2 separate regions of the Homo sapiens genome follow, and region 2 is linked to region 1. Evidence: promoter capture Hi-C in 16 types of primary human blood cells and fetal thymus (Javierre and others, 2016). All regions are on one chromosome and are shown on one strand. The core of a region is centred on a gene start or on the middle of the fragment in contact, and the rest is flanking DNA. Distances in the headings are between cores, read along the strand shown.

Region 1 (5,051 bases), core at 1,268-3,767:
CTGCCTGGAAGCTGCCTAAGGGTAGAAGGAATAAAACGAGCTCCAGCTGCAATGTGAGGGCAGGTGAGCCCAGACCCAGCTCCAGAAAGGGTCTCCTCGGCCCTGCGAGGTCTTCAGCAAGGTACATGCTTTGCCCAGGTGAAACCAGCTTCAGTCCTAAATTGAAGCCAGTTGCAAGCTTCTCTAGGTGAAAAGTCAATGTTTACGAACACCAACACTTTTTGCTTCCCCTGGTCCTGTTCTGCGGATGTCAGACCCCAAAGCTGAAAAAGAAATGTTCCTGCATAATCACCCCCTTCCCCCAAAAGAAAACCCAAGTTCCCTGGACCAAGCTCCTGGACTGCAGAACAAAGCAGACTCCCAGCAGAGTGGTCTGGTCTCTCTTCCTCCAGGGAATGGTGGGCCAGGTCTATGTGAGGCTATAACCTAGAAACTTTCCTCTGCCTCCCTCTCCTCCTCCTTTGGCAAGACAAGGAGGGGAGAAGGTAAGGATTAAGCCCAAAAGATCTCCAGAAAAAGCCAAGCCTCTGGGGGGAGTCCTAGAGGGTGAAGCCAGGGATCTGCCTGGCAGCCAAGCAGAGCAGAGGCAGCCACCCTGAGGGAAAGGTGGTTCAGTCGGGGTTCAGTGGGCACTGGCCATTTTCCAGGGGCATGGGAGGAGATGGGTTGGAGTTGGACTCCCTAGGCTGCAGTGTGCCTGGCGTGGACCCCTGACGCTGACTCACCCCCAGGGCCCTGACACACGCTGCAGCTTGCAGTGCCTGCCAGACCACCACTCTCATTCCACAGGACCAGGATGCCAGGCACGTCCCACTGCATCAGAGCCACCCTGCCCCCTTCCACCTGCCACTCGGGCCCGCCTTTGGGGCACTGGGCATGGCTTTTTTCAGCACCTCTGCTGGTCACAGAGATGTTTCTAGCAGCCCCAAAGCTGGACTTAGTCTTAAGTAGGGAGAGATGGTTGAAAGGATTAAGGGCTTCCCTGCTTCTGTCACCCCCTCTAATGAAGTGCCAGGTTATGGGGATCCAGACAGATTGGATGGAGGACAATCTATTCCACCTGGGAGAGGCCCCGCAGGGCGGCAGCAGTAGGGGAGGGAGAAGGGCACCCTTTTGCTTTCCAGGTCAGACCCCAGTTCACCTTTCTGGCTTCCTGGGCGCCCCCAGATCCTAAGGACTTCCTCCTCCTTATAAGCTAACTCAACCTGTACTACCTGCCCACGGGGCCTCTGCCCTTCCCTCCCCACTGCAGTGGCCCCTCCTGGGCCAGCACCTCTTCTGTCCTTGCACTCCCTTCTCCTGCTGCGGGGAGAGCACCTACTCTGCCACCTCAGCCAGGGGTAAGGGAGGACACTGCCCTGCCAGGAGACACCCCACGAGCCATGGGCTGGGGGTGTCCTGGAGGCACCTGTGGAATGTGGGGATGAAAAGGGAGGAGACAGGATGAGGGGGCCTGGCTTAGTGGGATGTGAAACGATAAAGCTCCACTTTTTAGTTGAAAAATAAAAGCCCTGTGCCCCAGAGGTGGGGGAAGGAGCATAGGCAGGGGAAGGGGGCACCCCAAATGGGAAAGGTACATGGAAGAGTCCAGAAAAGGGAGTCGGGCTGTCAGCACCCGCCAGGCTGCGAGCCTAGCCCTTGGGGACAGAGCTGAAGCAGGGACGGGGCGTCCTAGGTCGTGCTGAGTCATGAGATTTGGAGAGAGGGGAGGGGCGCCTCCAGCCCCTTCTTGGGCCCCTGCCCCAGCTCCTCGTGCCCGTTGCTTCCAGATGGCCCCTGCAGTCTGTCTCCCCAACCTCTCCCTGACCCAGGGTCTCCGGCTCCCAGCGCCCAGACCCCACCCCCCGCCCCACTTCCCACGACGGCGGTGCCAGGGGTCCCCGAAGCTTGAGACTGGGGCAAAAGAACCTTCCTTGGAGACCGCTAGGGCTGGCGGGGGCTGGGCTAGACGCGAGTGGGTTCGTCCCAGGGAAAGGAGAGAGGGACGGGGGCGCAGAGCCGGCCGGTGCAGGGGACGCGTGGCCCGCCCCTCTCTGCAGCAACCCGCGGGAGGAAATCTGCCCCCAGCCCAGCCCCAGTCCCTCAGAGGAGCCGGCTCCTCGCCCCTCGGGTCCGACTCCCCGAGACGAACCTTCCATCCGGACGCTTCCAAACTCCCCCAAAGGACGGGGCAGACTCCCGGCCCCCTTGGCCTCAAACTTCCCCAACCCTACTCACCTCTCGGGACCCAGACCACCCCGTGGCCCCTCGACTCAGTAGCAGGAAAGGAGAAACTTTGGAGAGGGAGGTCCGTGCCCCCACCGGCGGGGGTATGGACTTACCGGAGAGCGACCCGAAGGAGGCGGGAGAGATCCGGGGTCTCCAATGTGAGGGGGCGTCGGACGGCAAGGACGCGTGGCTGGCGACGGTTTCGCAGGGGCGCCCGTTCCCCTGGGGGCGCGAAGTCCCCGCTCCACCGCTGCCCCAACTCGGCTCCGAAGTGCCTTTGCCGCAAGACTTGCTGAGCTTAGCAGTCTGCGCCGAGGCGGCAGAGGGAGGGGGCCTGATCGATGGGCGCGCGCGGCGAGCGCTGCAGTGAGGGGAGGAGACCAAGCGGCGTGGGAGGGCGGGGACCGAGGCGGAGGAGGCCCGGAGGAGGCGGAGGGCGGGCCTGCCCCCCGGGACGGGTTCTTTCTGCGCAGCCCCCCAGGCGCTCGGCGCCCCCGCCTCCTGCTCAAGGTCAAGGAGGCTGCTTCCCCAGCAGGAAGGCGGACTGGAAAGGAGCTCTATACTCCCCACCCCAGAAGGCTGGTCTCCTTTCTAGCCAGCTCCTTCTCTCCAACTTCCCGAACCCACTGCAGCTCAAGGCTAAATTATTGGGCTCAGGAGCCCCCATCCCCATGGCCATTTTGGGATCCCTGAGCCCCTAGCCTCCCCTCCTCCCCTCTCCGCTTAGGTCACCGCTACCTATATTGGCCACCTGGATGGTGGGGGCTTCTGAGCCTAAAGGTTGGGTGAGAGAGAGGAGGATGCTTGAGAGAAGACAGCGGTGCCTGAGGCCTATGGAAATAGAACAGCGGAGGGGAGAGTAAGAACTGCAGGGTGACAAGGAGAGAGGAGCTGGAAGACGGTAGAAAGAAAAGGAGGACGCTACTGGTTATTAAAGACAGGGTGTTCACACATGTTAGTTTGCTTAATACGTAAGACATCCCTTTAAGGTGGGCATTTTGCGTGGGCAGTTTGCAGGTGGGGAAACAGTCCCTGAATGGTGCGTTGGACCAAGGAGCTGCAGACAGTTAAGTGGTGGCATTTCGGAAGAGCCTGGGAGAAAGAGAAGGGTGGCAAGGGCAAAACAGAGCCCTTCCTAACCTACCCAGGAGCTGCCAGGGCAGCACCAGAACTTCCTTACAGCACAATTTGAATATCCGCTTTAACTCTTTTGGAGTTAACTTTTTTTTTTCTTTTTTTTTTAGACAAGTCTCACTCTGTTACCCAACCTGCAGTGCAGTGTGCAGTGGCGCGATCTTGGCTCACTGCCACCTCTGCCTCCTGGGTTGAAGGGATTCTCCCGCCTCAGCCTCCCGAGCAGCTGGGATTACAGACGTGCGCCACCACACCCGGCTAATTTTTGTATTCTTAGTAGAGATGGGGTTTTGCCATGTTGGCCAGGCTAGTCTCGAACTCCTGACCTCAAGGGATCCACCCACTTCAGCCTCTCAAAGTGCTGGGATTACAAGCATGAGCCACTGCGCTTGGCCTGGAGTTAACTTTTATAATAGGACTGTAGCATCCTGCCTCGCTTTTGGGTACAAAACCGTACATGGCCTGAGGTCAGTCTTCAATACGTACTAGGTGAGTGAGTGAGAGGTGGAATGAATGCAATATGAGGAGATGCAAAGAACAAGTGGGATTCAGGCTTTGGGGAGAGAAGAGGCAGTGGAGGGCACTTTTCAGATCACTGTGCCAATAATACCAGGTGTTACTGGCAGACCATCCCCAGTTGGAGACTATCCCCAGTTTGGCTTGCCTCAGAGCAAGGCGGCAAGTGGCTGCCGACTCAGTGGATGTTACGAAAAAGGTGGGGGAAGACCTCTGGGGAGTCCTCAATCAGGCTGAAGCTGTGCTCACAGCCCCTGAGGCACAGAGGCCCTCCCCCTTCACCTGTGGAGCAGCCAGAACAAGGGCAGTGGAGGAAATGGGGAGCCAAGTTACAATGGACTAATGAGACCTTTACATTCAAAGAGGTTACCCACCACCCCCACCCTTAGCCAGGTGTGTTCCAGGACTTGTTGCTTCCCCAAAGGGGCTGGCTCTACTCTATTCATTCCTTCCTGCTCCCCATGCCAACAACCAGTATCTGCAGGACTCCAGCCAGAAAGAGGGCTGCAGCCCCCTCGCACAGAATCAAGCCAAGCGAACTGGCCTGATGCGCTTCAACTTTTCCACGGCAGCAGACTCAGCTGCCTACTGTTCTGATCAAAGCCTTGTGTCAATCTGGTGCCCCAGCTTCTTCTCCTAAGCACGTCAGAGGAAGCCAGCCTGCCTTCCCAGGCTATTAGGAGAGTCAGAGCTGTAATCAATTTGGTTAAATGAAAAATGTGGTGTCGCTGGCTACAGCCTTAATGTTCTTTTAATTCATCAGGACCAGTAGTGTCTGGGTTACAAACCTAATCAAGAGCTCAACATCCCTCTTGCTTATTCCCCCAGGCTTCAGGAGCTGGAAGAGGAAAGAATGGAAAAGACATCCACCCCCTCCACACCCAGCCTATTATTAGATACTTTGCTTTTCAACTGTTCATCATTGTAGAAAGATGAGCCTCTAGTATCTTAGACCAGCATCACTCAATTGCATGCACATGCAGGGCCATCAGGGCAATCCCTCTGCTTCCACACAAGGTCATTTTGAACCCACAAAAGGTGGGGGAGAGCTATCTAACACTGAGCGTTTTTCAGGAAGAAAGTCTACAACTCCCTCAATTACATTGTTTTACCACTTTCTGCTGAATAGTGTGCTTCCTGGTGGCTTCATTTTCTGTTTTTTTCTAGGGAGGAGAGAGAAGAGAGCAGGGAGC
Region 2 (5,051 bases), core at 734-3,233, 500 kb before region 1:
CTCTGATGCCTTTGGGTCTGTTTCCTGTGGGGTGAGAGTTCCTGACCCCAGGATATTACAGAGACAAATGATGGTGTATAAAGAAAGATACAAAGAGGGGAGAGAGAGAGGAGAAGGAGGGGGGAGAGAGAGAGAGAAGGGGCATGAGTGAGCCAATGAAGAGGAGACTGTGATGTGAGGGAGGTGCCAGGGTCCCCTGAGATTTGCAGTGTTCACTCCGTGAGACTTGAGATCCCAGGGGCCGGGATAGGACATGGCCATCATCAGCACCTCGAGGGCTGTGTGCCTACCCAGAACAAGGCCCCCCATTAACTATGTGCAGCCAGTGGAAAGAGGAATGCCTACCCCCCCGCCAGCCGACGCCACGCCAGCCCTCGCCTCGTTGCCCACTCCCCTACTCTGAATGCAGAAGCCCAGGGTGCCACCTCCCCCTCTGCCTGCCCTGCCTCCACCTGCCAGAAAGCATTAGCTTCACTGTCTAGATTGGCATGGGGGCGCAAAGGCACCATGTTGCGGGGCCCAGGGCACCTGCTGGGGGTGGGGCTTGGGGTCAGGAAATACCTGGGCTAACCCCTGGAACCCTAGCATGCCCAGTGCCAATGAGCAAATGGCCCTAGAGCCATAGGGGTAAAGAGTGTAGTAAGAGGGGAAGGCTTGGAAGCTCAGAAACTTGGCCTGGGGAGCCCTTCTGACACCTTACTCCAGCCCCTTACCCCTAACCTCGGCTGGGACCTCCAGATGGGCAGATCAAGTCATTACACCCCACCATTTGCTTAGTGTTTGACCCCCTGGGAATGTGATCACTGGGAAGTTCTTCCTAGAGTCCCTCCTCCTTCCTATCATAGTGTCCCCAAGTTTCCCTCCTATTTTGGCCAGAGGGGAGAGAGCCCAAAGCTAACCCCTTCTTTGTTAGCCCCATAGGCAATGGTGGGGTGACCTGGGTTTCATTTCACTTTCTCCATGAGGAAGGGATCCTGGCCTATAAAGGCAACCTTGGAGACGCCACACCTGCCATCCCCAGGGATCCTGGAGGGGCTGCCTGCTGCTGAGGAGGTCAGAGGCCTCTCCCTGCTCCTCCTCAGAAATCCACACATCCACTCAGCCTGCCCGCCCCACAGTGTTCTGGGCTGCAGCTAGTCCAGGCAACATCTTTGTGAGAAATAGAAAAGGGTGCCCCTTGCCCCAGTGGCCCTACCACGTGGGGAGCGGGCAGAGTTGATGAGTGGGGCAGGAGCAGATTTTGTCCTCTGGTTGGCCCCTTGGCCAGACACCTTTGTCTAGACCAGGCCACAGTGGCATATTTCTATGAGTCAGCCTGGTCAATACTTAGTTAAAAAAAGTGATTTAAAACATATTTATAAAAGATTGCTTAAAGGAGGTTTATTCTATGGATTCCCTTGGATATCCTAAAGCCTTTCACTCGAAGTATGGTTCACAGCCCAGCAGCATAGCATCGGCATCATCTGTGAGTGTGTGAGGAATGCAGAAGCTCAGGCCTCAACCCTGACCTACTGAGCCAGAATCTTCATTTTAGGGTTTGCCAAGCACTGCCTCAAGCTTATTCATGGAATAAGTCAGATCATCAGTGGAGCTGCTGGACAGCCACTCTCTACTCCATCTCCTACAGAAATGCTTTTACCTAGTTTGTACTTAGGTGATGCACCATTGGTTTATATCCAGGTCTATAAGAAACAGCCCTATGGACATCACGGTTGATTTACTGCAAGGATGTGGTGAAGAAATGGGTTCAGACCAGAAGCCTGCTGCTCTGGTGGGGTATTTGGAAGAGGCAAGGAAGCATCAGCTTCATTTAGGATGTAAGGGGCTGACTGAGATGTCTCTTCCTCTGGGAAACCTTCCCTAATCCCTCAACTCTGGGGGAGGCCTCCCCTCTGTGTGCCTGCCCTGCCGCAAGGCTCATTCCCTTGGGTTCAGATTCCTGGTTACTTGTCTGTTTCTCAGACCAGGCTGGGACCCCCAAGAAAGCAGGGGCCTGGCCACCATTGCTCTCCTGGTATCCTCAGTGCTGGCCCAAGCCCTCTGCACATGGATGCTCAAAAATATTGGTGGAATGAGTAAAGAGATGAATGAGTGAATGAATGAATGAACAAATGACTGGCCAGAGGCTGGGAGGTACAGAGCAGAAAAAAAAAAAAAAACAAAAACCCTAGGCTGGAGCAGATGGACCTATTTGAGAGAGAGGGAGGGAGGGCAGCCCTCTTCAGACCTGGTAGTAGCACTAACCTGGCTCCACCACAGGCAGGAGCCCGAGGTGTGGCTTCCAACCCAGACGGCTGCGGTGAGGATGGAGCCGCACTGGGGAGCCTCTTAAGCTGCCAGCCAGTCAGCTCGTGGCCAGGCTTGGGTTTCATTAGAGTGAGACATCTGTTCTATAAACCCTTCCACTTAGAAGCTTTTGCCTTTCCTATTCATTCTCTTGATTTTTTTTAAAGAAAACTTCTTTTGAAAATTTCCATCCAATTCCAAACAAGCTAGGACGAACAAAGGTATGTGCCTGCCCCTAGGCTTGGATAGAGGACTCTAGCAACTTGAGGCTGTGGGTTCTTGAATCTCCACAGTGTGCCCGACACTTGCCTAGGCTCTGAAGATCCCAGATAAGTAAGACTTGAATTTTGCATTAACAGAGATTACAATTGGGTCAGAAAATTACCATTGTGTGCGTTAAGCATGAGGCAGGAGACAAGCATAGGCTGGTTGTGGGGGGACTTAGAAGGTGGGTAGGATGGGGCAGCAGTGGGAAGGAATGTGTCTCATTGTGGAATCCTGTGAAGATCCAGGGAACTGGGGCCAATGGCCAGTTAACCCTGGGAGAGAAGCCTGGCAACACCAAAGCCCATGGCCATGCCAGCAAATCTCAAGTGTTTATTGAGCATCTACTATGTGCCAGAGCCTGGGGAAAGTGCTGGGGATACACAGATGAGTATGATGAAACAATATACAGAAATAAACATCCAATTTCATTTAATGACATAAAAACTGAGAATTATTCATGAGATGCCATGGGAACCTAGAGGGGAGCCCTCAGAAAGCCTGAGGTTCACGAAGACTTTCAGAGTTTGTTTTTTTGAGACAGAGTCTCACTCTGTTACCGAGGCTGGAGTGCAGTGGTGTGATCTTGGTTCACTGCAACCTCTGCCTCCCAGCCCCCCAGGTTCAAGCAATTCTCCTGACTCAGCCTCCCAAGTAGCTGGGATTACAGGCATGTGCCACCACACCCGGCTAATTTTTATATTTTTGTAGAGATGGGGTTTCACCATGTTGGCCAGGCTGGTCTCAAACTCCTGGCCTCCAGTGATCCGCCTGCCTTGGCCTCCCAAAGTGCTGGGATTACAGGCGTGAGCCACTGCGCCTGGCCCAGAGTTTGTTTTTTTAAACTAAATATAATATACATAATAGAAAAGCGTACATATCATAAGTGTATAGCTTGGTACATTTCCATAAGCAAATACACTTGTGTAACCAGCACCTGGACCAAGAAAGAGAACATCATCAGCTTTCCAGAAGCCCTCCACCCCCATGCCCTCTGCTGGTCACTACCCACCCCCACAAAGATAGCAACGATCGTGATTTCTAACAACATAGGTAGGCTGTGCCTGTGTTTTGAACCTTATCATAAATGGGGCATTATTTTGCATCTGGCTTCTTTTCCTCACCATGTTTGAGGATTCACCCATGTTGTTGCTGGTGGTCATAGTTCGTTCATCCTCATTGTGGCATGGTACTTACTATGGGTGAATACAACCCAGTTTACGCATTCCACTGTCGATGGGCAACCAGACATGTTCTAGTTGGGAGTATCATGGCTACCACCGCTATGAGCAGTTTCGTACGGTTGTCTAGTGAGCATATGGATGTGTGTCTGTTGGTTAAGTCCCCAGCAATGGAATTGCTGGATCAGAGTAGATCCAAGGGAGTCTCAAGGGGGTGAGAATGACTTTCCTAGGTGGAGAAGTGTGGGATGGGTCACTGGCTTGGGCCAGTGATGGAGGGCGAGCAGAGGGAAGGACAGGAGGAAGCCACAGTGGGAAGAGGGGCTTGAGGACCAGCAGCACACTGAGGCTCTGCTGATTGTTCCCCGCTTACCTGGGTTAGTTTCCAGTGGCTGCCGTGACAAAGTACCGCAAACTGGGTGGCCTAAAACAACAGAAGTTTATTCTTTCACAGTTCTGGAGGCCAGAAACCCAATATCAAGATGTCAGCAGGGCCACATTCCTGTCAATGGCTCTAGGGGAGAACCCACTGCGTGCCTCTTCCAGCTTCTCGTGGTTACCACATCACTCCAATCTCTGCCTCTGTCTTCACCTCACCTTCTTCTCTGTGTGTGAGCTCTGCGTGTCTACACAAGGGCAATTGACATTGGATTTAGAGCCCACTCAGATAATCCAGGAGGATCTCCTCATCTCAAGATCTCTTACTTAGCTACATCTGCAAAGGCCGTTTTTTCAAGTAAGATCATATTCACAGGTTCCAGGGATTATGAGGTAGACACACCTTTAGGGAGGCCACCATTCATCCACCACACTTTCCCTCACTCCCATGCTAACACCCCCAGCTCATTTCCCCCCTTTGCACAGCTCTGAGGCAGGCCACTTTCTGATGGCAAATCATGTCTCTCTTGGCCAGCTCAGGCCAAGCTTCCTCCAGGAAGCCCTCCCTGACCCACAGGTACTTGAGATTCCTCCAGCACTAATGTATAAGGCTCTGTCCAGCAGTATCTGTGGGTCTGAATCTCTCCTCAGACCGAAGTTTCCTGAGGGCAGGGAACACACACTGTTCACAGGGGCACACACACTTTCTCCAGTGCTCATCCAGGGCTCTGCATAAACTGGTTCTGGCAATAAGGAACTTGGGCTGAAGTCACCTTTCCAGCAGTGTCTGGTCCAGCCAGGGCATCATGCCCAGTAACAGCCCCGATGTCCAACACTTCCCCATGTCCTCTTCTCCCCCTAGACACTGCCACCTTAGGGGTCCTGGCTGTTACTTCGTCCCAGGGCCTGACTGGTAGTCTTAGTTACACACACAACACAGGG

Evidence for each region. The method cuts DNA at HindIII sites, captures the fragments that hold promoters and counts their contacts. A CHiCAGO score of 5 or more calls a contact.
Region 2: a fragment that was not itself captured here is called in contact with the fragment with the promoter of SYT2 in region 1 in 1 of 17 cell types (M0 macrophages); the score reaches 5.5 in M0 macrophages.

The regions. Positions count from the first base shown.
Region 1 is chr1:202,707,937-202,712,987 of GRCh38, forward strand. It overlaps SYT2 (synaptotagmin 2), which reads right to left and starts at 2,518. Exons shown (of 9, transcript NM_177402.5): 1 at 2,322-2,518. The HindIII fragment of the contact is 4,026 bases long and covers 1,885-5,051 here.
Region 2 is chr1:202,208,285-202,213,335 of GRCh38, forward strand. All of the region lies in intron 1 of LGR6 (leucine rich repeat containing G protein-coupled receptor 6), which reads left to right. Among named protein-coding and RNA genes, the nearest start is that of LGR6, 17 kb to the left of the region's middle. The HindIII fragment of the contact is 856 bases long and covers 1,556-2,411 here.